Linked DNA regions of Homo sapiens: all the other regions are linked to region 4. The links are contacts of gene promoters, found by promoter capture Hi-C in blood cells and fetal thymus (Javierre and others, 2016). All regions are on one chromosome and are shown on one strand. Each heading gives the region's core, a stretch centred on a gene start or on the middle of the fragment in contact. The rest is flanking DNA. Distances are from core to core; before and after follow the strand shown. Region 1 overlaps ANPEP (alanyl aminopeptidase, membrane). Region 2 overlaps ARPIN-AP3S2 (ARPIN-AP3S2 readthrough). Region 3 overlaps LOC124903550 (a long non-coding RNA gene). Region 4 holds the start of IDH2 (isocitrate dehydrogenase (NADP(+)) 2). Region 5 overlaps WDR93 (WD repeat domain 93). Region 6 holds the start of ANPEP (alanyl aminopeptidase, membrane).

Evidence for each region. The method cuts DNA at HindIII sites, captures the fragments that hold promoters and counts their contacts. A CHiCAGO score of 5 or more calls a contact.
Region 1: a fragment that was not itself captured here is called in contact with the fragment with the promoter of IDH2 in region 4 in 1 of 17 cell types (neutrophils); the score reaches 8.5 in neutrophils.
Region 2: a contact is called between a fragment that was not itself captured here and the fragment with the promoter of IDH2 in region 4, in 1 of 17 cell types (monocytes). The highest score is 6.3, in monocytes.
Region 3: a fragment that was not itself captured here is called in contact with the fragment with the promoter of IDH2 in region 4 in 2 of 17 cell types (M0 macrophages and neutrophils); the score reaches 6.8 in M0 macrophages.
Region 5: a contact is called between a fragment that was not itself captured here and the fragment with the promoter of IDH2 in region 4, in 1 of 17 cell types (monocytes). The highest score is 5.2, in monocytes.
Region 6: a contact is called between the fragment with the promoter of ANPEP here and the fragment with the promoter of IDH2 in region 4, in 2 of 17 cell types (neutrophils and M0 macrophages). The highest score is 5.9, in neutrophils.

What each region holds. Positions count from the first base shown.
Region 1 is chr15:89,788,030-89,792,800 of GRCh38, reverse strand. ANPEP (alanyl aminopeptidase, membrane) reads left to right here. Exons shown (of 21, transcript NM_001150.3): 17 at 239-349; 18 at 474-641; 19 at 1,708-1,848; 20 at 2,260-2,341. Among named protein-coding and RNA genes, the nearest start is that of MESP2, 14 kb to the right of the region's middle. RefSeq lists an enhancer at 14-514. The HindIII fragment of the contact is 1,043 bases long and covers 797-1,839 here.
Region 2 is chr15:89,836,014-89,840,710 of GRCh38, reverse strand. ARPIN-AP3S2 (ARPIN-AP3S2 readthrough) reads left to right here. Exons shown (of 10, transcript NM_001199058.2): 9 at 2,989-3,096. It overlaps AP3S2 (adaptor related protein complex 3 subunit sigma 2), which reads left to right. Exons shown (of 6, transcript NM_005829.5): 5 at 2,989-3,096. It overlaps LOC124903552 (a long non-coding RNA gene), which reads right to left. Exons shown (of 2, transcript XR_007064754.1): 1 at 3,766-4,697; 2 at 1,367-3,263. Among named protein-coding and RNA genes, the nearest start is that of MIR5094, 12 kb to the left of the region's middle. RefSeq lists an enhancer at 2,667-3,866. The HindIII fragment of the contact is 3,352 bases long and covers 528-3,879 here.
Region 3 is chr15:89,770,817-89,775,763 of GRCh38, reverse strand. LOC124903550 (a long non-coding RNA gene) reads left to right here. Exons shown (of 2, transcript XR_007064751.1): 2 at 713-3,670. Among named protein-coding and RNA genes, the nearest start is that of MESP2, 3.0 kb to the left of the region's middle. The HindIII fragment of the contact is 5,176 bases long and covers 1-4,850 here.
Region 4 is chr15:90,100,521-90,105,260 of GRCh38, reverse strand. IDH2 (isocitrate dehydrogenase (NADP(+)) 2) reads left to right here and starts at 2,793. Exons shown (of 11, transcript NM_002168.4): 1 at 2,793-2,985. The coding sequence starts at 2,871. It overlaps IDH2-DT (IDH2 divergent transcript), which reads right to left and starts at 3,129. Exons shown (of 3, transcript NR_149130.1): 1 at 2,883-3,129; 2 at 1,809-1,881. RefSeq lists silencers at 2,583-3,042, 3,363-3,432, 3,923-4,012, 4,073-4,122 and enhancers at 2,657-3,511, 3,512-4,367. The HindIII fragment of the contact is 3,688 bases long and covers 1,421-4,740 here.
Region 5 is chr15:89,713,590-89,718,325 of GRCh38, reverse strand. It overlaps WDR93 (WD repeat domain 93), which reads right to left. Exons shown (of 17, transcript NM_020212.2): 6 at 3,231-3,346; 7 at 1,377-1,415. It also overlaps the pseudogene RNU6-132P. Among named protein-coding and RNA genes, the nearest start is that of WDR93, 25 kb to the right of the region's middle. The HindIII fragment of the contact is 6,791 bases long and covers 1-4,736 here.
Region 6 is chr15:89,812,057-89,817,110 of GRCh38, reverse strand. It overlaps ANPEP (alanyl aminopeptidase, membrane), which reads left to right and starts at 2,259. Exons shown (of 21, transcript NM_001150.3): 1 at 2,259-2,339. RefSeq lists cis regulatory regions at 1,876-1,878, 1,896-1,925, 1,924-1,927, 1,835-1,963, 2,215-2,220, promoters at 1,835-2,323, 1,169-2,323 and an enhancer at 2,191-2,690. The HindIII fragment of the contact is 11,363 bases long and covers 1-5,054 here.

The DNA of each region.
Region 1 (4,771 bases), core at 69-2,568, 310 kb after region 4:
ATACAGTTTCTAGGTGTTGAAACTGGGGCTGGAGCCTGTTCCTGCCCTTCTGGGTCACAGGGCTGCTTTGGGGACCAAGGAACCTCAGGCCCAAGGCACAAAGCACATACAGCGGGGGTCAGAGGGCCAGTTAGGCCACAGAGCCTTAGGCAGGGTGCCGGCCTGGGGTTGTGTGTCAAGAGGTGAATCTTGGCTGGAGTTCGCCAGGTGTGCTAACCGCGTGTCACCCCTGGGGCAGGTACAGCGAGGTTAATGCCATCAGCACCGCCTGCTCCAACGGAGTTCCAGAGTGTGAGGAGATGGTCTCTGGCCTTTTCAAGCAGTGGATGGAGAACCCCAATAATAACCCGTGAGTGTCTCCCCTGCGCCTCCTCTGCCAGTCTTCATCTGCCCCCAACAGCCCCGTCCTCAGCAGAACCCTGTCCCACCCTCCCCGCTGCTGTTCCACACCTGACCTCCCTACCCCACACCAGGATCCACCCCAACCTGCGGTCCACCGTCTACTGCAACGCTATCGCCCAGGGCGGGGAGGAGGAGTGGGACTTCGCCTGGGAGCAGTTCCGAAATGCCACACTGGTCAATGAGGCTGACAAGCTCCGGGCAGCCCTGGCCTGCAGCAAAGAGTTGTGGATCCTGAACAGGTGAGTCTTGGCGCAGGGTGGGACTGCGAGAGCCCTCTCCCCACCTGGAGAACCAGGCAGGCCTCCACACTCCTCGCCAGATCCTTCACGTGACCCCCACAGACCTGTTGAGGTGGAGGCAGTATTTCCAAAGTAACCGGTGCAGACTGGAAGCTTTAATAAGTGATAGAGACAAGATATGGACTCAGGTCTGGGTCCATGTCCTCTGTTCCTAGCTGCTGTGGCCTCTTAGCCTTTACCTGACAACAACTCGTCTTCCCTTCTGTCAAAGGCTCTGGTGTAGCTGGACCTGGGTCTTTTCAAACATCCAGCTGGGCACCCCCTCAAGCCCTTGGATGAGGGTCCCCACCTCCCACCATGTGCCTCATATGCCATTACCTGGATGCAGTAAAGAAGAGCCACCCTTGGGCAGGGTGTGGTGGCTCATACCTGTAATCCCAGCACTTTGGAAGACTGAGGTGGATGGATCACCTGAGGTCAGGAGTTCGAGACCAGCCTGGCCAACATGGAGAAACCCCGTCTCTACTAAAAATACTAAAAATACAAAAAAAAAAAAAAAATAGGCATGGTGGCACATGCCTGTAATCCCAGCTACCCGGGAGGCTGAGGCAGGAGAATCACTTGAACCTGGCAGGCGAAGGTTACAGTAAGCCCAAATCGCTCCACTGCACTCCAGCCTGGGCGACAGAGTGAGACTCCGTCTCGAAAGAAAAGAAAAGAGAAAAGAAAAGAAAAGAAAAGAAGGGCCACCCTCAGTGTCAAAGACGGGAGTGACCACCCACCTGGTGCCAGGGCTTGGGGCGCTAGGACTCCTTCCTTCATTGATTCATTGTCAAATATTTCTATGTCAGGCATGACACTAGCTTAGCCAGTGACCCTGTGACCCTGCTTAGGTGACTCAGTTTTCCATCTATAGAGGGAAGAAGGACCAAGGGGTCCCTCAGCCCCTGGCAGGCCGAGGGGATGTTGAGAGGATGCAGGCATAGGTGATGTGCGTGGGACAGTCCAAGTTCTCTCCTGAGTCACCTGAATTAGCAGTAGCTGAGACAGCATCTGGCCCTCTTAGGTACCTGAGCTACACCCTGAACCCGGACTTAATCCGGAAGCAGGACGCCACCTCTACCATCATCAGCATTACCAACAACGTCATTGGGCAAGGTCTGGTCTGGGACTTTGTCCAGAGCAACTGGAAGAAGCTTTTTAACGAGTGAGTCTGTGGAATGGGTGTCAGGGACAGCGAGCGCCGAGGCTGGGGCCCCGGGGGGTGGCCTGTGCGGGTAAGACACGCCGGGGGCACTAACCAGAAGTGGACAAAAATCAGCCAAGCCTGGGGGCTAGGGTGGGGCAGGAATGGAAAGACAAGCTGGGGTATGGGCCGTCCCTTTTCCCATTTGGAAGGAAAACGTGGCGTGTGGGCGTATTCTCCAGAAGAGAGGGGAGTGAGGAACTCGGCAGTCAGACCTGTGTTCAAGCTGTGACTCCCCCACATCCTAGTGGGGTCTCCCAGGGCGTGTCATTTCATCTCCTCTATAATCATGGCTCCCTACCCAGTAGGTGTGAGGATGAGCCTCCTTAGTTCCCGGCCTCCCTCACAGTTCACCTCTCTCCCTCCCTGCAGTTATGGTGGTGGCTCGTTCTCCTTCTCCAACCTCATCCAGGCAGTGACACGACGATTCTCCACCGAGTATGAGCTGCAGCAGGTAAGAAGTCATTCCCCAGACCTGGGCTCTGCCTACTTCCTTCCCAGGCCAAAGGGGCACTCCATTCTTCTCCCACGTGGCCCTGAGGGAGCACAGGCTCCACGCCGCCAGGCCTTCCTCATTTACAGAGGAAGCCGAGTAGCCAGACTTTGGAAATGTTGATAATTCAATTTAAAAAATTCATCTTGGGATTTTTGTATAGGCACAAAAGGGAAGAGTGGTATAATGAACCTCCATGTACCCGTTACCCAGGTTCAACAATTATCAACATTTTGCCAGTACTTTTTCCGGGCGGGCAATTTTTAAGCAAATCACTGATCATGTAATTTTACCTCTAAATAATTTAGTCATATGAAAAATAAACGCATTCTTTTATTTTTTTTATTTTTTATTTTTTTTTTGAGATGGAGTCTTGCTCTGTCACCCAGGCTGGAGTGCAGTGGTGCGATCTGGGCTCACTGCAAGCTCCGCCTCCCGGGTTCACGTCATTCTCCTGCCTCAGCTTCCTGAGTAGCTGGGACTACAAGTGCCCGCCACCGCGCCTGGCTAATTTTTTTGTATTTTTAGTAGAGATGGGGTTTCACCATGGTCTCGATCTCCTGACCTCATGATCTGCCTGCCTCGGCCTCCCAAAGTGCTGGGATTACAGGCGTGAGCCACGGCGTCCAGCTTTTTTTTTTTTTTGAGACTGAGTCTCGCTCTGTCATGCAGGCTGGAGTGGTGCAGTGGTATGATCTCGGCTCACTGCAACCTCTGCCTCTGGGGTTCAATCAATTCTCCTGCCTCAGCTTCCCGAGTAGCTGGGATTACAGGCATGCGCCCCCACACCCGGCTAATTTTTGTATTTTTAGTAGAGACGAGGTTTCACCATGTTGGCCAGGCTGGTCTCGAACTCCTGACCTCAAGTGATCCACCCACCTCGGTCTCCCAAAGTGCTGAGATTACAGGTGTGAGCCACTGCGCCCAGCAATAAAGGGATTCTTAAAACATAATCACACTGTCCTTAGCAAACCCAGGAAAATGATTATCTTCTTACTATCATATACCCAAGGCATATTCAAATTTTCTAAGTTGTTTATAAAAGGTCTTTTTACAATTGATATATATGCTTGAATTAGAAGCTTGACAAAGTCAACTTGGATTAAGTTAGTTTGTCTTTTTTAAAAATTGAGATATAATTTGCTGGGCGTGGTGGCTCACACCTGTAGTCCCAGCACTTTAGGAGGCTAAGGTGGGTGGATCACCTGAGGTCGGGAGTTCCAGACCAGCGTGGCCAACATGGTGAAACCCTGTCTCTACTAAAAATACAAAAATTAGCTGGGTGTGGTGGGGGGTGCCTGTAGTCCCAGCTACTCGGGAGGCTGTGGCAGAATAATTGCCTGAATCCAGGAGGCGGAGGTTGCAGTGAACCAAGATTGTGCCACTGCACTCCAGCTTGGGCGACAGAGTGAGACTCTGTCTCAAAAAAAAAAAATTGATATATAATTCATGGACCATCAAACTCACCATTTTAAGTGGTTTTCAGTAAACTAACAAGGTAGGGTGGGTGGGGTGCTTCATGCCTGTAATCCCAGCACTTTGGGAGGCCAACGCAGGAGGATCCCTTGAACCCAGGAGTTTGAGACCAGCCTGGGCAATATCATAAGATCTCATCTCTAAATAAATAAATAAATAAATAAATAAATAAATAAATAAGCTGGGCATGGTGGTGCATACCTGTAGTCCTAGCTACTCAGGAGACTGAGGTGAGAGGATCGCTTGAACCAGGAAGGCAGAGGTTGCAGTGAGCGGAGGTGGTGCCACCGCATTCCAGCCTGGGTGACAGAGCAAGACCCTGTCTCAAAAAACCAAAACCAAACCAAACCAAACAAACAAACAGAAAAAAACCATGTGGTACAACCATCACTACTGTCTAATTCCAGAACATTTTTATTACGCCAAAAAAAAACCTTGTACTCATTAGCAGTCACTCCTTATTCCTACCTGGTCCCCTCAGCCCCTGGCAACCACTAATATACTTTCTGTCTCTATGGATTTATTACCTATTCTGGATGTTTCATAAAATGGAATCATATACACACAGCCTTTTTGTGTCTGTCTGCCTTCTTTCACTTAGTGTAATGTTTTCAAGATTCATGCATACGGTAGCAGGGATCATTCTTTTTTATGGCTGAATAATGGTCCATTACATGGATGTACCACATTTTGTTTTCAGCTCATCATTGATGGGCATTTGGGTTGTTTCAGTCTTCTGGCTGTGATGAATATCATGGACCTTCACGTGCAAATTTTGTACAAACATGTTTTAATTTATCTTGGGTATACACCTAGGAGCGGAATTGCTGGGTCATTTGGTTACTCTGTGTTTAACTTTTTGAGAAACTGACAAAATGTTTTCCAAAGCAACTGTACCATTGTCCATTCCTATTA
Region 2 (4,697 bases), core at 954-3,453, 260 kb after region 4:
CACGCCTGTAATCTCAGCACTTTGGGAGGCCAAGGCAGGGGGATCATCTGAGGTCAGGAGTTCCAGACCAGCCTGGCCAACATGAGGAAACCCCGACTCTACTAAAAATATAAAAATTAGCTGGGCATGGTGGCGGGTGCCTGTAATCCCAGCTACTCAGGAGGCTGAGTTGGGAGAATCGCTTGAACCCAGGAGGCGGAGGTTGCAGTGAGCCAAGTTCACACCACTGTACTCCAGCCTGGGTGACAGAGTGAGACTCAGCCTCAAATAATAATAGTAATAATAATAATAAAGTGAAGATTATATTACCTACCTTAGATGAATGTTGTAAAATTAAGGTAAGTTACATAAAGTACTTGGTTCATAATAGATACTCAACAAGTACTACTTTCTACCCACACAGGGATTGGCTAAATAAAAGGAATAAATACTGAAAGTGCAGGTATAGAGGACTATTTCTCTCCTTTTTTGTTAAATTGTGGTAAAATATGTAACATATAGTTTCCTGTCTTCACCATTTTTAAGCTTACAGTTCTGTGGCATTAAGTATATCCACATTGTTGTGCAGTCGCCACCACCATCCGTCTCCAGAGCTCTTCATCTTGCAAAACAGCACCTCTGTACACATTAAACAATAGCCACCACTGTCCTCTTCCCCCTGCCTCATGGCAGCCCCCGTTCCAGTTTCTGTCTCTGAATTTGACTACTCTGGGTACCTCACAGGAGTGGAATCACACAGTCCTCATCCTTTTGTGTGTGGGTTGTTTCACTTATAGTATCTTCAAGGTTCATCCGTGTTACATTGTGTCTCAGAATTCCCTTCCCTTTTACAGCATCTCAATTCAGATGAAAAAAAAAAAAAGAATTCTTTTCCTTTTTAAGGCTGAATAATATTCTGTTGTATTTCTATGGCACATTTTGTTGATCCAGTCGTCTGTTCATGGACACTTGGGCTGCTTCCACCTTTTGGCTGTTGTGAATAATACTGCTATGAACATGGGTGTACACATTCTCTTCAAGTCTTTACTTTCAGTTCTTTTGAGTGTATATCCAAAAGTGGAATTGCTGGGCCATATGGTAATTCTGTTTTTAATCTTTTTGAGGAACCACCATACTGTTTTCAGAGGCCTATTTCTTGATGGGGAAGTATAAACAGTGGAATTCCCCCAGGGAATAATTTTAAAACCAGTCTTGTTTAACATTTTGTAAATTATCTAAATATGAGACTTTTACCATTAAATCTTCATTTGCATATAGCTAATGAATAATTCATATTGTATAAAATGTAAGAACACCTCGTGAGAGTGTGTGTGTGCGTGTGTGTAGACAGAACAGTGGTTAATAAAGCTCAATGTGGGCACACACGCAAGGGAATACATTTGATTTATTATACTCTGTCCTCAAGATCAGAAGTTCCCTGCACTTACTGAGGGCAAAATACAGGGAGCCAATGCCAGAGAACTTCAGATGTCAGAAGTGCACAGTGCCCAGATATGCAGACACATCTTTCTTCTTGACTCTGCATTGCTGACAGAGTAAACTGGTGGTTGACTCTAGACTCTGGACCAGTGGTTCTCAGCTGGGGTGAATTTGCCCCCTGGAACACATATGACAATTCTGGAGACATTTTTGATTGTCAAGCTGGAGGAGTAGAGACCAGGGATGCTAGAGAACAGGCCACAGTGACAGGACAGCCCCACAGCAGAGGATTATCTGGTCCCAGATGTCACTAGTACCTAGGCTGAGAAGCCCTGCTCCAGACCCAAATTACCTTCTCAGCCTTGTCTTAGCCTCTCTCCTGCATAAAGAAAGTTGCCATCCCAGCCAGACCCAGGAGCTCCCCATACCTGCCCATACACCAGCTGAATTGCTCCTTCCAACATCTTCTACCTGAAATTCTTTCCCCTACCTCTCTAATGTCAGAGCCCAGCTTCCATCCTCCCACTGTCTCTGTGAAGCTCTCTGATCTCTCTAGCCACTGTACCCTTTCTTCTCTGACTTCCCCAGGACTATCCCAGTCATTTGGCACTTAGTTAACAATAGAAGGTTGTACTTGCTGTCTTCCCAACTTGACCGAAAGCACCTTGAGGGCCATTTGATGTGATTTGGTTTGAAATATGGAGTACCATTCCTTATGAACCACAGTGGGCATCTCTGCTTTGACCCACCCAGGGCTTTCTGTGACAGCTTTCCTACCACAAAGGGGTACAGTAGTTGAGTCACCTCCGTCCCATCACAGCAGTTAGGTACACTGAGATTCAGCTTTGTTTAGATGACTGCTAGCTAGATGGAACCTAAGCCCAAATGTGACCCTTATGCTTAGAAAGGTGTTTATGCTGAATCTGCTTTCTAATCTAAGCAGTAAGAAATGAGGTGAGGAGAGGTGCAAAGGAATTGGGCTCTATCTTGCTCTGATCACGTCCCTTCAGTGGAGCACAGGCTGGAGGATCTGCCTTATAGAAGGTGGAAGACATTCATTTCAGTTGCTTGGACAGGGATTATTCTGTCATAGCTGGACCTACTTAATGACAGTCAGTGTTGATGATGGTAATATTAATAATGAAAGCCACCATTCCTTACTTAGAACCCAGTGTGTCCTGGGCACCAGGCTAGGTGCTTTACACACATTTATCTCATCCAGTCCTCACTGCAATCCTGGAAGGAGGCTGAAGCACTTTAAAGGTCATTTGCCCAGGGCCACCCAGCTAGCAAGTAGCAGAGCCAGAATTTAAACAAGAGCTGTCAGACTTTGAAGCCTGTGCTCATAGCTACCACCTCGCTGCTGAGGGGAGAGATTCGTGTTGCCATGTGCCAAGACCTGGGAGAGACCCCTCGTTGTGTCACTGGGCAGGGGGGTTTGAGTGTCTGAGTTGTGAGTCAGGACAGGTCATATCTGACCACTCTGCTGCTGCAGGAAAAGGAAACCTCGTGGGTTACACTCTGACCACCACAGAGTATTCTGACTCCTGATTTTTGCTTCCCTTTTAGGTGCACTACATCCTCCAGGAGGTGGTGATGGGTGGGATGGTGTTGGAAACAAACATGAATGAAATCGTGGCTCAGATTGAGGCTCAAAACAGGCTGGAGAAATCCGAGGTGAGTAAGCAGCTGTGCTCTAGCCCTGGCTGGGTAGAGAAAACCTGGGCAGAGGCAGGAGTGTGTACATGTGTTGGTTTGTGTTGCTGTGAAACCTCGGGAAATGATACTCATCTTCTTTCTTCCTTGAGTCCATTGAAACTCATGGATTTGAAGGTCAGCCAGCCCTGAAAATTAAACAGGTAACAAGTTTGAAATCTCAGATTTTCAGGGTAGAAGAGCAAATAGAAAAGCCAGATGGCAGAGGAAGGCAAACAGCTTCTGGCTTGGGGGTTATGGCCCATGTTTGTGGTTTGTAATTCCTCCTTTGAAAGCCACTCGTTCCCTGGAGGGACCCAGAACCCTCTTCCCTAGTCCAGTGTGGTTTCCTAGTTTGTGTGCTCTAAGAGTCTGATCTCCCAGCAGCCATTTCTCGTGGTGTCTTTCAGACCTCAGAGTTGCCAATTTCCTTATTTCCAGTTAGCTTTATAAAAAACTACAGTAGAGTTTGGGCTAGGCTTGAAAATAACATACCCCAGTCCACCCCCACATGGTGCTGGGCTTGATAGAGATGTTCACATAAATTCTGTCCTATCCCTCTGAGGTCTCGCCGTCCCCTTCCTCAGCCTTCCCAGAGCACAGAGGTTACAGACGTATACTTTCACATGCAGAAATAGCAGAACAAATTACCTCTTTAATTATCTGAGTGTCTTAAAGAGCTTCTTTGCCTTGTATACGGAACTTGATCTTGCGAAACCAGGAATTCTTCTTTCTGTGAGGACTGGCAGTCCTGTGGAAGAAGCTTTTCCAGACCACAGCTATTGGTGGCAGCTATAGTTCTTTTAGAAATGTAGGCTGGGAAGATTCCAGGAATAGTAAGTGAGTCAGAGGCAAGGGGGTTGGAAATGAGAAGAAATGGAGACTTGCTGGGTGAGGGCAGAAGCAGAGTTGGTATCCGGAAAGAAGGCAATAGGGGAAAAATGATTGTGAGAGAGTTTTCATCCACTTTTGCCGTTCCCTCCACGTGGGGGTGAGCCTGCCAGGTGGGGGTTCACTGTAGATGTGCATACTCTTTGCGTTTTGTCACCAGCTCTTCTTTATCTGTGATACCCCCCACCTTCTCCCAGCTTGTTGCCACATGACACTTCCAAAGCCAGCTCTTTTCATCTCACATTATTAGTTGGCAAGCAGTTGCCCTAGAGCTGTGACTGTCCTTTTCCTTTTAAGAACTTCCCGGTGACTTTGCACGTTTCAATAAGAGTCTTTGGTCTCTTGAGGAAAGGGTTTTGTTTTGTTTTGTAACCAGAAAAGTGCCCCTGACAAATCACCTTAGATTATTTCAGCATTTATTGGGTACCCACCATGTGCCAGGTACTGTGAGAGGCTGGGGCTGTGAAACTGTATAGGCCACACTCCGCCTCTGAGGAGCTGGTAGTCTAGTAGGACTGCAGGCTTTGGATCCCTGTGCCAAACCCCATCTAACCTCAAGATTGTTTTGTTGGCTACTTTTGAGGAATAAGGGGGGAAAGTTAAAACTTCAGTTGTGTGTGCTCAGTTTGGAATTTTTCTAGGCATCCTTCACCTGTTATTTTGTTTGTTTGTTTGTTTGAGACAGAGTCTCA
Region 3 (4,947 bases), core at 1,013-3,512, 330 kb after region 4:
GGTCTGTATCTACTCTTGAGAAATGGAATAGATTAGGTTGGGGAAGAGGAGTTGGGTACCCTAGGTGATGAAAACCGGCGAAAATGGGTCCCCAAGCCGGCCTCTTTATTGGCTGTGACCTTGGTTAAGTTATTTAGCTCCTCTGAGCCTCAGATTCCCTCATCGGTACCAATAGTGATACAAAATACCTATGCCTAGGATGGTTCCTGGACTAAGTACAGCGATCCCTGTAAAGCACTTAGGCCCTGGCAAGTGAGCTGAAGGTTTGCCATGATCGTTTTATAAAGAAGGTACTGGCCAGGCATGGTGGCTGATGCCTGTAATCCCAGCACTTTGGGAGGCCGAGGTGGATGGATCACCTGAGGTCATAAGTTCGAGACCAGCCTGGCCAACATGCTGAAACCCTGTCTCTACTAAAAATACAAAAACCAGCCGAGTGTGGTGGCAGGCACCTGTAATCCCAGCTACTCGGGAGGCTGAGGCAGGAGAATCGCTTGAACCCGGGAGGCGGAGGTTGCAGTGAGCTGAGATCGTGCCACTGCACTCCAGCCTGGGCGAGTGCGAGACTCCGTCTCAAAAATAAATAAATAAGTAAATAAATAAATAAATAAATAAAATAAAAGGAAAGTACTTAGATTTCAAGGCACTAATGGACTTTATTCATTTAATTCATATTTATTTATTTATTCTCTTTTTTTTGTTTTTGAAACAGACTTGGTCTATCGTCCAGGCTGGAGTGCAGTGGCACCATCTCAGCTCACCGCAACCTCTGCCTCCTGGGTTCAAGTGATTCTTCTGCCTCAGCCTCTCAAGTAGGTGGGACTACAGGTATGCACCATCACGTCTGGCTAATTGTTGTATTTTTAGTAGAGACTGGTTTTTGCCATGTTAGCCAGGCTGGTCTTAAACTCCTGACCTCCAGTGATCCACCCGCCTTGGCCTCCCAAAGTGCTGGGATTATAGGCGTCAGCCACTGCGCCTGGCCGAATTCATATTTAGCAACCAGTAAATGTCGAGCACACAGGGTGAATGAGCTAGTCATGGTCTCTGCTCTAATGAGATTTCAGTCTTGTGGGAAAGAAAAGTGAACAGGCCATTGTATGACAGTAGCTGTATGCCCTTAGGCAGAGCCCTTAACCTGTTTGAGCTTGAGCTTCTGCTCAGTAAAACAGGAATAATGATAGTATCTACATGGGATTGTGTAAGGGATAGTTGAGATAGTAAAATTTATAAAGTAAATGATATTCTCAGCAACAATTACAGTTTAAAGGAGATTGTCAATGTCCTGTGTGGTCTTGGGGAAAGGGCTGAGTCCTGAGGCTAAGAGTCAAAAGAAGACCAGGGACATTAGGGTTCTGGCCACAGAGGTGAAGAAGTCATAGCTGGGCCTTGAACCATGCGTAGGATTTGAGTAGGGAGAGAGGCAGGTGCCGTGCTTTCCGGATGGGAACTGCATAAGCAAAGACCTGGCCTTGGGACCTTCCAAGATGCCTTAGGAGCAGGGCACTGGGGTGGTGATGTGGAAGGCCAGAGCACACCTGGGCTGGGGCCAGGTTAAGGAGTTGGTTTTGGGAGCCATAGGGACTTTTGAGCGGAAGGGTGATACAATTTTAAAAATCATTAGCTAATAACTAACTAAAGATCAACATGACAATGGTGTTCAAGAAGAGATTAACCTGCAGCAGCCTGAAGTAGCAAATGGCTTCGTAATTATTTAATCATTATTATCATTTTTTGTGGAGTTGGGTTTTACCCAGGCTGGTCTTGAACTCCTGGGCTCAAGTGATTTGCCCTCCTCAGCCTCCCAAAGTGCTGGGATTACAGGCATGAGCCACCAGGCCCAGCTGCCTTGTAATATTTTTGTGGCTGATTTTATTTTATTTTATTTTATTTTATTATTTGTTTTATTTTTGAGACAGGGTCTGTCGCCCAGGTTGGAGTGCAGTGACAGCTCACTGCAACCTCCGCCTCCCAGGCTCAAGGAATCCTCCTGCTTCAGCCTCCTGAGTAGCTGGGACCACAGGTGCACGCCACCATGCCTGGCTAATTTTTGTATTTTTAGTAGAGATGGGGTTTCGCCATGTTGGCTAGGCTGGTCTCGAACTCCTGGCCTCAAGTGATCGCCTGCCTCAGCCTCCCAAAATGCTGTTATTACAGGCGTGAGCCACTGTGCCCAGGCTTCATTTATTTTAATTTTAGAGACAGGGTCTCACTCTGTTGCCCAGGCTGGAGTGCAGTGATGCAATCTTGGCTCACTGTACCCTAAAACTGTGTTCAAGTGATCCTCCTGCCTCAGCCTCTCAAGTAGCTGGGACTACAGGCGCATACCACTATGACTGGCTAATCTTTTTTTTTGTTTCTTTCTTTTTTTTTGAGGGAGGGCGTGGCTATTTTCAAAAATTAACTTTTAATTACACAAATTATGTAACTACTACCTTTCACTGTGAGAAATGGAAACATTACAGATAAAGTTGGAGTCTCTTTAACCAACCCCATAAACCCCCAAAAGGTAACAGCTGTTATTAGGCTGTGTGTGTAGTTCCAGACCTGGCCAGTGGGTTAACATAAACGTGTATCCTTAGCAAACACACAGTAACCCTCCAGTTACATTATGTACATTGTTATGTGTAAATGTCAGCTTGTAATTTGTTTTTCTTCTTTTCTTTTTCTTTTTCTTTTTTTTTTTTTTCATTCAACAGCATGTTTCAGAGCATTCCATGTCAGGACATATTTTGCTGACTCACCCTTTAAAAAAATAATGGATCAAATTTTTAGTGGGGATAATCCCAGCACTTTGGAAGGCTGAGGTGAGAGGTTGGCTTGAGCCCAGGAGTTCAAGACCAGCCTGGGCAACATAGTCAGACCCCGCATCTAAGAAAAAAAAAAATTAGCCAGGCATGGTGGGGTGGGCCCTGTAGTCCCAGCTACTTGGGAGGCTGAGGCAGGAGGATCCCCTGAACCCAGGAGTTTGAGGTTGCAGTGAGCTATGATCGTACCACTGTGCTCCAGTCTGGCCACAGAGCAACACCCTGTCTCAAAAAAAAAAAAAAAAAAAAAGTACTGCCTGCGAATACAGATTTAACCAAAACCTTGGTTATAGTTGATCTAAATGTTTTAAATGTTTATCTCTTTAAATAATTTTTTTCTTTAGACAGGGTTTCACTCTGTCACCCAGGCTGGAGTGCAGTGGGGCAGTCACCGCTCACTGCAGCCACCACCTCCCGGGCTCAGGTAATCTTCCCACCTCAGCCTCCGGAGTAGCTGGGACTACAGATGTGCACCATCACTCCGGCTAAAATTTGTACTTTTTGTAGAGACAGAGTTTCACCATGTTGCCTAGGCAGGTCTCATACTGCTGGGCTCAAGCAATCCATTCGCCTCGGCCTCCCAAAGTGCTGGGATTACAGGTATGAGTCACTGTACGCAGCCCATGTAAATAATTTTAACTTTGGAAAAAAGGTAAAATGGCAGAAGGTACGGATACACCTTCAATAATGAAATTATGTCACTTTTTCTCCTCAGAATTTATTTTGAAATATATCGGAGAAAATATGCCCAAGTCACTGCTCTAACGTTATGATGAAGTAACACTTGGTGTTGAATAACTCTGGGCAAACAACTATCGTTTAGTTTATTCTAGCTGCTATGAATAAAGAAGAGAAAATTTTAATTGGTCCATAACATGAAAAGAAGGTGGGATAGATTTCAAACAGGCTTTCTTTGGAGAGAAGCAGTTAGTTATGGAACATTTCATGGCTTAAAAGGGTTTAAACCAAAATTTAAAAAAAACAACAACAAAAAACAACTATTTCCTAAGGGGAAATAAGGGACAACTTGTAAAACATTCACCCCTAGACTTTTTGGGTTGAAATAATGGCACATGTAGTGTAGGTACATCATTTATTGGTCCGAGGCCACACAACACTATAAAGCTCTTGACATACTGTCTATCAGGGAACTTGCATGTATCCATTCAACAGTTATAAACAAAATTCATCAGGCTTCATAGATATGTCTTGATCTAGGTGCTGCATTTCAGATAGAGCAGGTGCTGTTTCTATTGGTGTTTCTTTATTATTTATTTATTTTTTTTGAGATGAAGTTTCGCTCTTGTTGCCCAGGCTGGAGTGCAATGGCATGATCTCAGCGCACTGCAACCTCCGCCTCCTAGGTTCAAGCGATTTCTCCTGCCTCAGCTTCCCAAATACGTGGGATTACAGATGCCTGCCACCACACCTGGCTAATTTTTTGTATTTTTAGTAGAGACAGGGTTTCACCATGTTGGCCAGGCTGGTTTTGAACTCCTGACCTCAGGTGATCCACCTGCCTCGGCCTCCCAAAGTGCTAGGTTTACAGGTGTGAGCCACCACGCCTGGCTTCTATTGATGTTTCTGACTCACACCTTTATTTTTGTTTATTTTTTTATTTTTTGAGACACTCTCTCTGTTTTGTCCAGGCTGGAGTACAGTGGTGTGATCTCAGCTCACTATAACCTCCGCCTCCCAGGTTCAAGCGATTCTTGTGCCTCAGCCTTCCAAGTAGCTGGGACTACAGGCATGTGCCACCGTGCCCGGCTAATTTTTGTATTTTTAGTAGAGACAGGGTTTCACCATGTTGGCCAGGCTGGACTCGAACTCCTGACCTCATGCAATCTGCCTGCCTTGGCCTCCCAAAGTGCTGGGATTACAGGCATGACTCATGCCTTTTAACTGCTATATGGTAGTCCATGGCATGCACAGCCACTTACTGATGCACCTTTATTGTATTTTTAGTTTTTGCCCAGCAGTGCTGCTTTGTGCATAAACAGCTAGGAATACAGTGGTGGATGGTCTTGTGATCTCCAGGAAGCTTCTGAATATCCAGAATTATTTCCCCCCAACCTCCTTAGAGCCAGCCTGAGGGATTTCTTGTGGAGGGATTTGGTATATAATGGGATTCCACCACAGG
Region 4 (4,740 bases), core at 1,544-4,043:
GAGGATCTGAGCCCCTTTCCTTTAAACACCATCTTTCTCTGCAGCAGCTTTCAGGGCCAATAGTTACCATCACCAGGAATTCCAGACCAGCACAATAAATAGGGGCTGTGGTTTCTCCCTCTTTCTCCTTCAAAAAGTAACAGAAAAAAAATTAGCCGGGCATGGTTGCATGTTCTTGTTGTCCAAGCTACTGAGGAGGCTAAGGTGGGAGGATCACTTGAGCCCGGGAGGTCGAGGCTTCAGGGAGCCATGATCATACCATTGCACTCCAGCCTGGGCAACAGAGTGAGACCCTGTCTCGGAAAAAACAAAAAAACAGTAATGGAATATGGGCCAGGTATGTTGATTTGAACTGGAGTTTTACTGCTTCCCAGCAGTGTGACATTGAGCAAGTGTGGTAACCTCTACGAGCCAAATGGAGCTGGCATCAGCTGCCTCACCAAACAGGATTTACGGGAAAGGCTGGCGTGGAGCTGGGGCCCTGGGAGGCAGGTAGTTAGAATCCGTTTAAAGATTTTGCCTCAATTGCCTCCAGCTGCTGCTGTGCTTACAAGGCACACAAGTGCTCCCCCTCTGATCCCTCAGCAGGCAAAGACCAGACTCTGGAACACACCTACAGTGCTGCCTCTGGCCAGGCCTCTGAGATATGAGTCCAACATGCAGAGAAAGGGGCAAGTCCTTGGTGGGGGGAGGGGGACAGCAATTTCATTACCGCCATTTCAGAGGTGGCAGTATGGGTGGCTGACATACGTAAGTCTGATTGTTTGGACCAGAAGGATCTTCAGGGGTCCAGTCTTCCAGTTTACAGGTGTGGACATTGAGATCCAGGCACCTGATAATACCAGGTTGGCAGGAAAGTCAAATGCCAGAGGCTTCCATGGTCTCTACTTGTGTTTGGAGCAACAGAATTCTGAACAGAGTCAAAGGGATAAGGGGTCTTTCTGGCACAAGCTGGCCCAAGACCAGGCCTTTGACAGAGGCCTCAGACTCTGGGGGGCCCAAAAGCAGCCCTCCCTTGGGCTCAGCCTTCTGGATCCCATGGCCAGAGTAGTAGTTCTGCCGGCTAGGACTTGGTGAGGGGAGCTTTGAAGTCACTAGTTGAAGGTCACCTTCCTGGTCCAGCTCCACCTGGCAATGTTGACTGTGAGGTAGTGGAGGGGAGGGCTGAGAACACAGAAGAGAAAGGTTGCTCCTATTTGGAGTGAATTAGCGTGACTGGGAAAGCAGAGAAGGGAAAGAGGTCAGGTTTTTCCAAATAAAACCCAGCCCTCAGCTGGTGTCTTAGTTTAAGAAAACAGATGAAGAGAGAAACTTTGTTTGTGGCAGAATCAATTACAACTGTCTTTTGTGGCCAGGTGCAGTGGCTCACACCTGTAATCCCAGTGCTTTGCGAGGCCGAGGCGGGAGGATCATTTAAGCTTAGGAGCTGGAGACCAGCCTGGGCAACATAGTGAGATCCCCCCATCTCTATTTTTAATTAAAACAAACAAACAAACCCATCTTTTATATGCAAACAGGCAAAAATGGAACTGTTTCTACTGTGGCTGTTTGACTACTCTAGGGTCTCAGAAAACAACACCCCAAAATGCAGGCCTCAGGAGCAGCTCTCTCTGACCCTCTCCCTCCCTCCTGTCTTTGGCCCCTCACTCTCCTCCGAGGCCAGCCATAGAAACTGGAATCCTTCTTCCTCAAGGCAGGTCATAGAAACCAGAGCCCTTCTCCCCCAAAGCCAGACATCGAACCCAAAAATATTACTCTTTCTCCCACACATTTCTGGGTAAAAACTGGCCATAAATTATCTGACCTACCTTGTTTGCTTGCAGGTCCTAAGACCCCTCCATCCCAGAGAGAGTCCTGCCCCGTACTCAGAAGGAAGGAATGCTGCAGAGAAAGGTCAAGAAGAATCTACACGGACAGGACTTGCTGGGTTTCCCCACTCAGGTTATTGGCCTTCTGGTCCAATCATATTTCTTTTTTCGTGGTTTTTTTTTTTTTTTTTTGAGACGGAGTCTCACTCTGTTGCCCAGGCTGGAGTGCAGTGGCATGATCTCAGCTCACTGCAATCTCTGCCTCTCAGGTTCAAGTGATTCTCCCGCCTCAGCCTCCTGAGTAGCTGGGATTACAGGCGCGCGCCACCATGCCCGATCAATTTTTGTATTTTTAGTAGAGACAGGGGTTTCATTATGTTAGCCAGCCTGGTCTCGAACTCCTGACTTCAAGTGATCCGCCTGCCTCGACCTCCCAAAAGTTCTAGGATTACAGACGTGAGCCACCGCGCCCGGCCCAAAGTGAGATTTCAACTCTCTCTACACCAGCTGGACCTGACAGCGGACTCGCGGAGGCGCAGACGCCGCCGGCGGTCTTAGCTCAAGAATGAAGCAGCCGCACTGGGCTAATGCGCCTTTGGGTTCAGCCCGGCAGGCGAGGGAAGCAAGAGTTCGCTCAGATTGGCTTTTGGGTTTAAGCTAAAGCGTCAGAAACTGACATCCAGGTTTACATGGGGCATCCTGGAGAGGGTCAGCCTCGCAAGCGGCTCTGCTAATCCCCCAGCCCTGATCCCGCTCGCGGGTCCCGGTGGGTCTCACGCCTGTAGCTCCTGCGGAGCTGGGCTTTCAGCGGCGCCCAGAGAAGCACCAGCCGGGCCTGGCCGCCGGGTCCCGGCTCCCGCGGGACGCTGGAGGCGTCGGCGGCCCTGGCCCCGCCTCCTCCCCGGCAAGGCCCAATGGGGCGGCAGGCCCGGCAGCCCCGCCCCGGTGGTGCCCGCGCGGCCAGCGCCCGCCAGGCCCAGCGTTAGCCCGCGGCCAGGCAGCCGGGAGGAGCGGCGCGCGCTCGGACCTCTCCCGCCCTGCTCGTTCGCTCTCCAGCTTGGGATGGCCGGCTACCTGCGGGTCGTGCGCTCGCTCTGCAGAGCCTCAGGCTCGCGGCCGGCCTGGGCGCCGGCGGCCCTGACAGCCCCCACCTCGCAAGAGCAGCCGCGGCGCCACTGTGAGTGCCGCGCGGAGGGTCCAGGCAGGCGCGCGCCCCCAGCTGCGACGTGGCGGCTTCCCAGGCTGGGGCCGGGAAGCACGTCCCGCCAGCCCGCAGCCCGGGGACGGCGGGGTCAGGCGCACAAAGGGCCGCGGGGCAGCTTCGCTCCGCGCTCCCCCGCCCGGCGCTTCCCGGCCGTGCCAGGCGCTGGGGTGGGGACTTGAGGGACGGTGGCAACTGGTGGCCCGGGCGACGGCCAGCTCTGCGCGGGCGGGGGCTCGGGGCTGCCGCGCGCCCCTAGGTATTTCGGGAGGGGGTCCTGAGAGTGTCCCGGACCCGAAGGGTGGCCTGCCCGCCCTGCGCCCCTGGAACGAGACGAGCACCCGTGGGGGGCTGGAGCACCCCGCGCGCTCCCCTGGCGAGAGGGAGGGTCGTGGCTCGGCCCCTGCTCAGACAAAGGCTGGGAGGCGGGAGACATGCACTTCCCCTTCCTTTTCAGCCAGGCGCGCGCTGATACCAGGCCCACGTCAGCTATTTTTGGAGCCTTTTACACGACAGCTGGAGGAGCGTCCTTTTTAATTTTCCCCTTTTGTTTGGCCGCCCCCACCCCCACCCCTTCGCCTTCATCGCTGCACTTGAGGCTCCATCCTGGGGCCTCTCCTTGACTTGACCTGCCTTGGCAGGCACATGCCCTCCCTGCCTGGCTCACTCGCCGCAGAGACCTGGCAGCCCGCGCAAAATGTCACTTTGCGGAATCGTTCCCACGGCTTCTGGGTACCCTTAGTTCCCTGCTTAGGAGGGAAGACAGTAGTCGGGTCGTAATAAGCAAGACTTAGCCCGAGCCTCCGTTGCCAACGCAGGCTGCCTTGCTTGGCGTGTGGGCATCGGCCTGCCCCCTCACCCTGGCTACCCAACACAGCTACAAAAGGCAGGGAACAATGTAGGTCCCTTGGCCCTGCCTAATGCCTGTTGCCATGGAAACCCCTATCCTAATCTGGCCAGGAGCCCCTTGCAGTGAGCCAGGAGAGTGAGGAAGAGGGGATGGGGCCCGCTGGCCCTGACCTGGCCAGAGGAGGTAATGGTTAACCGGATTGTGGGAGCAGCTGACTAGAGCCGGGGGGGTAGGGAGGCTTGGGCCCCAGTCCTACCTTCCCTGCCAAGGAGAAAGGGGCATGTCTGCTTTTGTACCTCTGGGAATCTACCTCAGGGATCTGCCCAACAACTCCCAGGTTCCAAGTGCCCCAGGACCCAAAGATTCCCATATAGCACACCACCTTCAGCAAAAATATGGTGGAAGTTAGCCACATTCTTTAATTCTCCCTTTTTTTCTGCCTTGATGGTAAAAAAAAAAAAAAGAAACAAACAACCCGAAAAACACACACAAACAGGAACACAAAGCGCCTTTTAAGGGTCCTGAATTTGGATACAGAAAAAGCAGTCAGTTGCAGGCCCTTCTAGAAGTCCCCATGTGGGTTGGTTATGAATGGGGAAATTGCTTGGTGTTGGAGTTGGACATCAGACTCTACAGTTGCGACTCTGCCAGCTTGTTACCTGGCAACGCAGCTGGAGACAGAATACTTGGCATTCCCCTTGATGACAAGGAAAGAATATTTTGGGGCTAAAAGAGCCCCGTGTCTTTGCTGCCTGGTAATTCCTGCACGCATCTTTTCCTATTTTGCAACGCCATAGGCTTCCAGCGACTGCTGGTGATGTTTCTGGTAAGTTAGAGCTTGGGGCAGTGCGGACCAGTTCTGTGAACGGCTCAGTGGCAGA
Region 5 (4,736 bases), core at 1,041-3,540, 390 kb after region 4:
ATTTTTGTATTTTTAGTAGAGATGGGGTTTCACCATGTTGGTCAGGCTGGTCTCAAACTCCTGACCTCGTGATCCACCTGTCTCGGCCTCCCAAAGTGTTGGGATTACAGGCGTGAGCCACTGCACCCGGCCATTTTTTGTATTTTTTGTAGAGGCAAGGTTTTGCTGTGTTGCCCAGGCTGGTCTCAAATTCCTGAGCTCAAGAGATCCTCCTGCCTTAGGCTCCCAAAGTGTTGGGATTACAGACATGAGCCACCCCACCTGGCCTAATGTAACTTTGAAAGGGAAAAAAGAAGGGGCTCTAGCGAGATACTTCCACTTCAGAAGTTCACCACTACTCTACTGACACGCCTGAGTCCTCCAAGAGCCATGCTTTCTGAAGACATGGTATGTTCCTGGTCTCAGAGGAAGAGCCAGGAAGCTCCAGGGAAACTGCTCTGTTCTCTAAGGTATTCCAAAACAAACACAAAACCCCCAAGTTACTCGGCTTGGTGAATTGGGCTGTTATTTTGGTAGAGGCAAATCCAGGATTCATAGGACCCTCTTTTAAGAAAAAGAAGACAGAACTATGAACACAAAATGCCCATGGCCACTGTAATTCCATCTAATATGGAGGAAATTGTGACAGAGGAAAGCTAGAGTGAAGAGGTAGTGGAATTAAGTGATTATGGTTACAATATGTTACCTTTGCTAATTTTACAAAAATATATAACCATATGAACACATTGCTAGGGCCCCTTCCAGGGGCCCAAGTGAGGGGCCCTGAAATTTAAGCTCCCTTAACTTCAGGTAAACCCACGTCTGGCCAAATGACTTGGGTCAACTGTCCTCAGGGACGGGAGGTCATCTTCAATGGATATGAGGCACAAGATTAAGTCACTGAGAATTGAAAATAGTGCCCAGGTGGAACATTTCATTAGCATATTTGACATTTAGGGTAAATTTCAAGTAAAAATCAAAATCTTGGGCCCAGTGTGGTGACTCACGCCTATAATCCCAGCACTTTGGGAGGCCAAGGCAGGCAGATCACCTGAGGTCGGGAGTTGAAGACCAGCCTGACCAACATGGAGAAAACCCTGTCTCTACTAAAAATACAATATTAGCCGGGCGTGGTAGTGCATGCCTATAATCCTAGTTACTCAGGAGGCTGAGGCAGGAGAATCACTTGAACCTGGGGGGCAGAAGTTGCGATGAGCCAAGATCGCTCCATTGCACTCCAGCCTGAGCAACAAGAGCAACAAGAATGAAACTCTGTCTCAAAAAAAAAAAAAAAAAAAAAAGAAAGAAAAAGAAAAGAAAAGAAAAATAATAATTTTTAAAAAATCTCTAAAATACAAACTTAAGTCTCTCTGGAGATTTTCTTTAAAGTTTCTTACCATTTCTAAAGGATCTGCAGAAATGGGACCAAGGGAGTTCTGAGAAGAAAAATGAGAAATTAATTCACAATAGGTTTGATGTATGTTTACCACCCCCTTTAATCTTCTGGCATGCTCTCTCTTCCCCTCAATTACTCTTGTGAGTGAATTCATGCAACAGATGTGGAGGGCCAGTATTTGTGTGGGCCTCTGGCCTGCAGAACTTCAACACACGATCCCTATTTTTCAGGATCTTAAAAGGTAGGTGGGGAAACAGGAAATAGTTAATAACAAGAGGAAATCTGAATGAATAGAGTTGAGGAGATCAGTCAGAACACCATTACAAGAATCCAAATTGAGGCAAATATTTCTGATTGGCAAAACATATTGGTGATGTTGAGAATTACATTTAAGTAACTCTAAATATAATTCGTAGTAAAAGAACTACCACTGTAACTGGCATTCATTGGCTGCTTCTCAGTGTATGAAAAAGAAGTGAATTATGGTGAGAAACCACCCCATTCAAGGTGCTTTTCCTATTTGGATAACAAATTAGTCCAAACAAAAATATATCTTTTTGAGTACCAAGTATGATACTATGGAATTTGTTGATAAAAAGCAGAAGGTATGATCTTAACAATCTAGAAATTTATTATCCATTGAAGACAAGAGGATTTTCATGTATAACAGGATAACTACAAACCTAGGCAGTATGTGAGAAGTGTCAAAAAATACATACAAATAATAACATTCTGTAATAGCTTAGAGGAGGAATATCTCTGGGCTAGTAACTTTCCCAGGGACATAGGACTACACTCCATTATGAAGATATTCACTGGCCATAAAGGCATTTATTCAAAGCCACTTGAGCTCAGCAGTGAATGTAACTCTCAATCTTGGTCTCCTATATTAATAATTTCACTAATTTATTTAGCACCTAATACAATGTATTTTAAAGGGATGCTCAGTTAATATTAATATATTAATGTTGGTGGTTTAAAAGTAAAAATAATAAGCATACACTGTATAAATAAGCAAATTAAGTCTTAATATTTACTGAGCAACTATATCTTAAAAACATAGCACAGGCCGGGTGCGATGGCTCATGCCTGTAATCCCAGCACTTTGGGAGGCCGAGGCGGGCACATCACGAGGTCAGGAGATTGAGACCATCCTGGCTAACACAGTGAAACCCCGTCTCTACTAAAAATACAAAAAAATTAGCCTGGCATGGCAGCGTGCACCTGTAGTCCCAGCTACTCAGGAGGCTGAGGCAAGAGAATTGCTTGAACCCGGGAGGCAGAGGTTGCAGTGAGCAGAGATCGCACCACTGCATTCCAGCCTGGGCAACAGAGCGAGACTCAAAAAACAAAAACAAAAACAAAAAAACAGCACAAGGCCCAGTCATCATATATAAATAAACTGAAATGGTAGAGTTTCTACTTTCTAAGGATAATAGAAAATATATATATATTTCTGTATATTGAGAACAACCTCTTTATACCATAGTCTGGAAAAATTTAATGGAATTTGAGGCATGAAAAGATTATTTCAGCCAGGAGGGAAAAAAAGATTACCAGTGAAGCAGGAGTCAGGACAAAAGACCCTCCTTCCAGAGAAATGCCTGGGAGTGGTCTCAGTGGAGAGGCAACTCCCAGACTAGAGATACTGCGATTCCCACTACTGAAGACACCTCTACTTTTTAATATCTTATTTTAACCAAAGGAAATTGACTTGGGAGACAGGGGCCAATATTCCTGTTGTCCTCTCTTATAGCCCAGAGGCCTCATTCACCATAAGTTTCCAAGGACTTGGGCTAGATGTGGGTCAGGGGTAGGGAGAAACATATCAGCTGAAAGCAGAGATATTTCCTACCAGTTGCGGCTGTCTGACTTTTTTCTTTGGATTTGAAGTGAGTTGGGGGTGCTCTAGTTTCTTGAGCCAAGTCTCCTTGGGCAATTTATACACATCCAGCCAAATATCTCCGGCTCCTGCATTGGGAAACCAGAGAACCATTGAGCAACTGTAAGAGAGCCACAAGTTTCCTCTGAGAAATGGCCTGTCTTCTTCTTAGAACTGCTGGCAAAGAGACCAGCCACCTCCATACCAGGCAACTTTGACATACTGAAGGAGAAGTAGTTCTGCAATGGTTATTGCAAGTCCTCATGCCCCACATAACTTTCCCATGGAGAGTTATCCCCTCAACCCACCACCACCTATCTAAGAGAAACAGGGGCTTCTCACACTAACAGCACTCATGCAACAGCTTTTTAACCAAATTGTTCTGCCCAGCCCCCACATTTTCTTTGTTGCAAATGGTAAATTCCATTGACATTAAAAAAAATATGGGGCCGGGCATGGCGGCTCACGCCTGTAATCTCAGCACTTTGTGGGGCTGAGGTGGGTGGAACACCTGCAGTCAGGAGTTCTCAGCCTGGCCAACATGGTGAAACCCCATTTCTACTAAAAATACAAAAATTAGCCGGGCATGGTGATGTGTACACCTGTAATCCCAGCTACTCGGGAGGCTGAGGTGGGAGAATCACTTGAACCCAGTGGGTGGAGGTTGCAGTGAGCCGAGATCAGGCCGTTACACTCCAGCCTGGGCAACAGAGTGAAACTCCATCTCAAAAAAAAAAAGAAATGCTTCATGAATTTGTGTGTCATCCTTGCAGAGGGGCCATGCTAATCGTCTCTGTATCGTTCCAGTTTTAGTATATGTGCTGCTGAAGTGATCACATCCACTGACATTTTGCCTTCAGTTTTACCTGTCTGGGGAGGAGGGCAGCAAATACAGAATCAGCAACTGAGAGAAGTGTGTCTGAGGAAGGGTTAGAATTGGGAAAGATGTACCTAAAGAATTCTTCTGACCAATATTTGAGGAGATAACAACCCATGGGTTGGCTGTGGGACTTTATCTTGTCAAAGAAACATGCTCAGCTTCTATAGCAAATATATGTTAACCTAGGAAAGGTTGTTCTCCCATGGTATGGGATCCTGGCTAAATTTTTTTCTTAAAAAGTAATCTTCTGGTCACCTTAATTTCACACTTCTGGCCTCTAGGACTCTGAGGGAATAAATATCTATTGTTTTAAGCTGCCCAGTTTGTGGTACTTTGTTATGACAGGCTCAGGAAACCAATACAGATGGTGCACAAGTTTCCTTGAATACACAAAGCATTATACAATGCATATCCTTCGCCAGGCGTGGTGGCTCATGCCTGTAATCCTAGCACTTTCAGAGGCCGAGGCGGGCGGATCACCTGAGCTCAGGAGTTCGAGACCAGCCTGGCCAACATGGTGAAACCCCGTCTCTACTAAAAATATAAAAATTAGCCGGGCATGCTTGTAGGTACCTGTAATCCCAGCTACTTGGCAGGCT
Region 6 (5,054 bases), core at 1,010-3,509, 290 kb after region 4:
GAGACAGTCTTGCTCTGTAGTCGAGGCTGGAGTGCAGTCATGTGATCTCAGCTCACTGAAGCCTCTGCCTCCCAGGTTCAAGCGATTCTCGTGCCTCAGCCTCCCAAGTAGGTGGGACCACAGGCATGCGCCACCACACCTGGCTGATTTTTGTGTTTTAGTACAGACACAGTTTCACCAGGTTGCCCAGGCTGGCCTTGAATTCCCGACCTCAAGTGATCCACCTGCCTTACAGGCATGAGCCACCACGCCCAGCCTCTTCAGGCTAAATTTCTGAAAGTGATCTTCATTCCTAACCCCAAACTGCCCTCCAGAAAGCTGGGTTGCACTTCTGCCACAGCAGGATCTTTACTCCTCTTAAAATCTCCGCGGAGCCTGGGTGGGAGAGGCAGAGCTCCGGGGGGAAGATTCTCTCCTGGCCTGATGTAGTGTTTTCCTTGGCTTGTCAGACATGGAGGAGATTATGCCAGATATGATAGTGGAGAGAGTCAGACATGCATGAGACTGGAGAGAGAAAAAAAACAAAATAGCCTCTGAGGTCTCACTCACAGCCTACTTACTCTTACTTTACACACAATTCTATATTCCGATATGTTTGTGACCTGGTTTTTAAGAGTACAGAGCAAATTAGGAAGGAGAAGCAAGGCTGCTACCTAGAGGTACCCTGGTCCTCCATGAAGTTTCCAAAAGAAGAGCAAGTGCAAGTAAAATAATAAAACACAGCCAGTCACAAAGCCATCAATTTGGACCATGCAGTGCAAGGCTTTAACTGTCCCAAGGATTCCAATCATGGATAAGGAAGAGCTTAAATTTGATTATAAATCTGAAAGTCTGGAAGTCAGCTTGAATATTGTGGTAGACATAATCATATCCTCCTCCTCAAAAGATGCCCTGGTTCTAATGCCCAGAATCTGTGAATATGTTATGCTACCCCACGAAGGGAAATTACAGTTGCAGGTGGAATTCAAGTTGCCAATCCATTGATTTAAAATAGAAAGATTACCCTGGATTATCTGGGTAGGCCCGATGTAATCACAAAGATGCTCACCAGTGGAAGCAAGAGGCAGAACAGTTGGTGTCAGAGTGACAGATTGTGAGAGACTGGTGGGCCACTGCTGGCTTTGAAGATGGATGGGGCCACCAGCCAAGGAATGTGGGCAGCTTCTAGAAGCCAGAAAAGCCAAAGAAACAGGTTCCCTTCCAGCCTCAAGAAAGCTGTATCCCTCAACCCCCTTGCTTTTAGTCCAGCGAGACCCATTTTGGACTTCTGATTTTACAAAACTTGTAAGATAGTAAATTAGTGTTGTTTTATGTTTGTGTTACGGCAGCCACAGGGAACCAATACAAATATTATCTGGTACCGCCCATTAAAGCTGCTCAGAGACAGGGAGCCCCACCCTGGCGGGGCTCCGGTGGCTGCACAACCTCTGCAAGCAGGATCAAGATGAGAGGCGCAGGCCAGGTGTGGTGGCTCACTCCTGTAATCTCAGCACTTTGGGAGGCCAAGGCGGGCGGATCACTTGAGGTCAGGAGTTCGAGACGAGCCTTACATGGTGAAACCCTGTCTCTACTAAAACTCCAAAAATTAACCAGGCGTGGTGGCGTGCACCTGTAGTCCCAGCTACTCGGGAGGCTGAGGCAGGAGAATCGCTTGAACCCAGGAGGAGGAAGTTGCAGTGAGCGGAGAAAGTGCCACTGCACTCCAGCGTGAGCGACAGAGCGAGACTCTGTCTCAAAAACAAATAAAGGAAAAAGAAAAAAATGAGAAGCGCGTGTTCCCGACTCCGGTGCTTTTTCGCAAGGTCGTGCTACTGCGCCTTCTGAACTACGAGTCCCAGGTACCAAGAAAGTTGAATTGCGTGCTGTGGCGGGTCCGTTATCTGCACCACCCGTCTGCACGGGATGCGCTGGCTTCCTGCCCCGGATGCACAAGGCTCCCTGCGGGACACTCAGGGCGAGGCTCTGAGCCCCTCCCCCGCGGCAGATGCCGTCCAGATGTGGCCGGCGGGTCCCGCGGGCTGCGGCGACAGGGACCCCGTCGGGGGCAGCAGGAGCCCTGGTGCATCCCAGGCCCCGGGGGGAAGGCCGGGCCGTCGGAGGAGCGGAGGAGCCCTGGGGGGCTCCCGGGAAGCCGCGGGCGGACGGGGGAGGAGCCCGGGCGGAGCTGCGGGCGGGCGGCCCGCTAGGGGTGAATCGGGTGGAGTAGTGGTCGGGTCCGGTTACTTCCCTTTAAAAAGACGGGAAAGGAGGAGTCCAGTGCTGGAGGGGCAGGGACGGCGGCGGCGCAGCTCGGAACCCGCCAGGGTCCAGGGTCCAGGTTCCAGCGCCCGGCGGCCCAGGCAAGTGGGGCGGGAGGGCGGGGGCTGCGGGCGCGGGTAGGGGTCGTGGGGCAGTTGGGTGCGCGGGAACCGAGGGAGCTGCAGACCCAGCGCTTGGCGCGTGCGGAGCTGGACTTCTGCGGCCGCGACGCCCCTCTTCCCAGATGGGTAAACTGAGGGCCAGGGAAAGCGAAGAATTCTTTTGGCCGAGCTCCCACTACGATCTCGCGGTCAAGTGGGTCCCCAGCGGGCCTCGCAGGGGTCGGAGGGGCTCCCATCTGGGGAGGGGGCCCCAGGGTGGGCGAGGGCGACGGGAGCCTGGGGAGGACGGACGGGGAGGGCGGCGGAGCGGAGCTAAGCTGCGGCGGGTGGACCCGGCTCGGCCGCGGCCACTCTGTCCCTGGTGGGTGGGGCGCGGCCGAAGGCAAAGGGCGAACCCGGCCCGCCTGTGGGGTCTCTGGCCAACACTGGGCTCAGAGGCCCTTTCTTTAACCTTAGATCTCGCTCCTCGGTCTAAAGCCTCCGCCGCAGCTCTCAGTGAAGAGGAAGGGGAACTCTAGGTGCTCAACGCCCGCGTTACAGTCGCGTTCTCCCTCGCTCCTACAACCCGGCCAAGATGCCGGGGCATGGATGGGGACCGAGGTTTGGGGGTTGTGGAGCCTATTCCACGCCCTCCCTGGTGAGCAACTGAGACAGATCCAGGGCCCCATTGCAATCCACTCTTGGTCTGGGAAAAGGTCCCCTAAACAGGGCCAATGGGATCCTTTCCCCAAATGACTCCAGAACGCACCCCCCCCCCCCAGCAGTGCGGTGGGCAGGGACGGCCCAGGTGGGCTATGTCCTGGGGTTTTGTGACTGGATCCCCACTCCTCCCCCACCTCAGCCCCTGGACTGCAACCCACCAGGCCGTGTTCGGGGGTGGTCAGAGCCCTGGTCTCAGCCAGACCTGAGGTCTGATGTGGCTTCATCCCTGAGTCTCTAAACGCCCTGGCCTTACTGGGCCTCAGTTAATTCACCTGTGAAAGGGGAGGCTTGGACCAGAGGGCCCCTCAGGGTATGTGTTTTGTGGAGGGGAGGTGGGCGTGTGGGGTAGGGGTGACCAGGAGGAAGTGGGGACAGCCTCTGTCCCACAGGAAGGCTGGCTAGCCCCAGTGGGTATGGGGGAGCTGGGCAGGGAAGAGGGTGGACTCCCCTCTCCCTGTGGGAGGGTGTGCTGGGCCCATGAGGCCCTCATCCACTCTCAGCCACCTTCCTGTGGAGCCCTAGCCTCGAAGGCCACACTATGAGTGCAAGGAGGCCACCCACAGCGCTGCTCCCGCTTCACAGGTGGGGAAACCGGCCCAGTGTCTTGAGGCAGCCCAGCCGCCTGCCCTGTGCTTCCCCCAGAGCCTTCTGGGGAATGAGACCTTCGTTACACGCTGGCGCTCCTTACACCCCTACAGCCTTTAAGCTAAGGCCTCCAGCCCCATCGCTGTAAGAATTGTATGCTAGGCATTCTGAGGACATAGATGGGGGTCCCCATGTCGGAAGGAGCCAAGGTGTTGGAACTGGGTCCAGTTCCTGGGCTGGCTCTGGTGGGAGATCTGGAACCCTATGCTGGGGCTCCTGGACAGCCCTGGAGGCATGGCATGGACAGTGTGTCAGCCGCACACCGAGGCCCTGGGGTGTCCTTATTCACATAGGCTGGCAGCCATCTATCCCTAGCCCGGGCTTCACCCCGGGTGCCTGTCACTCCTGGCCCTACAGTGGTCCCAGTCACACCTTGGAGGCAAGATGTGGGTCCTCCACAGGCCTGTGTCTGGAAGCAGCCCCCAGCACTCCCTGGCTAACAAGTTCTACTTCTGAGAACTACCCCCAGCTCCCAGCCCTGGTCTGGCCAAATGGGTGCGTGTCTTCTCCTGTGGTCTTCAACTCCCCTTGGCACGGCCACAGTAGATGTGAGGGGCTGTATGGGAGGACATTTTTAGGAGGCATATGTAGTTAAGCTGTGGAACCTGCTGCTAACTAGCTGTGTGGCCTTGGGCAAATCACTTAACCTTTCTGTGCCTCAGTGTCCTCATTTGCCAAATGGGGGTGATTATCCTGGTAGGGCACATAGTAGGTGCTCAGTTTCACCTACCATGTGTCTCACCAGGATAATCACCCCCCATTTGGCAGACAGGAGTTGCCAGGCAGGATCTGTGGCCCCACACAAACCCTATGTGTACTTCCCCCACCCACAAATGCCTCTGCTCCTTCCTCCTGTGTGCCCTGCATTGGGCTGAAGAGGCTGATGAGAGGCAACTTCCCATTGGGGCCTTCTGAGGTTCTTGCAGGAGGGGCAATGTCCAAGGCTCCCAGAGGAAGCACCCTGGGGTGATGCAGCTATGGGCGGAGGCCTCAGAAGCCTGGGAGAAAGCCAGGGGCCTGCGGGGACAGAGTGTGCCCTGGCCCAGGCCCAGCCTCGTCCCTACCCTTCTCGCTCACTGCTCCCTCAGAGCAGACAATGAGCCCCAGGTTGTCCCTGAGCTCCCAGTCTCATAGTTCACAGTCAGGGACACTGAGTGGGAGTGGGTGGGGCCTACCCAAGGACCCAGTGGTCGGGGATGGAGCATGGATAACACAGCAGCTCACCCGGCCACGGGTGCTCAGCTCTCCCGGCCACAGCCCCTCCCAGGCTCCTGGAGTCTTCATATTAGAGTAGAAAGCCTCTTGCACTTCACATCTGAGACCAAGGAGCCTCTCCCCACCCACAAG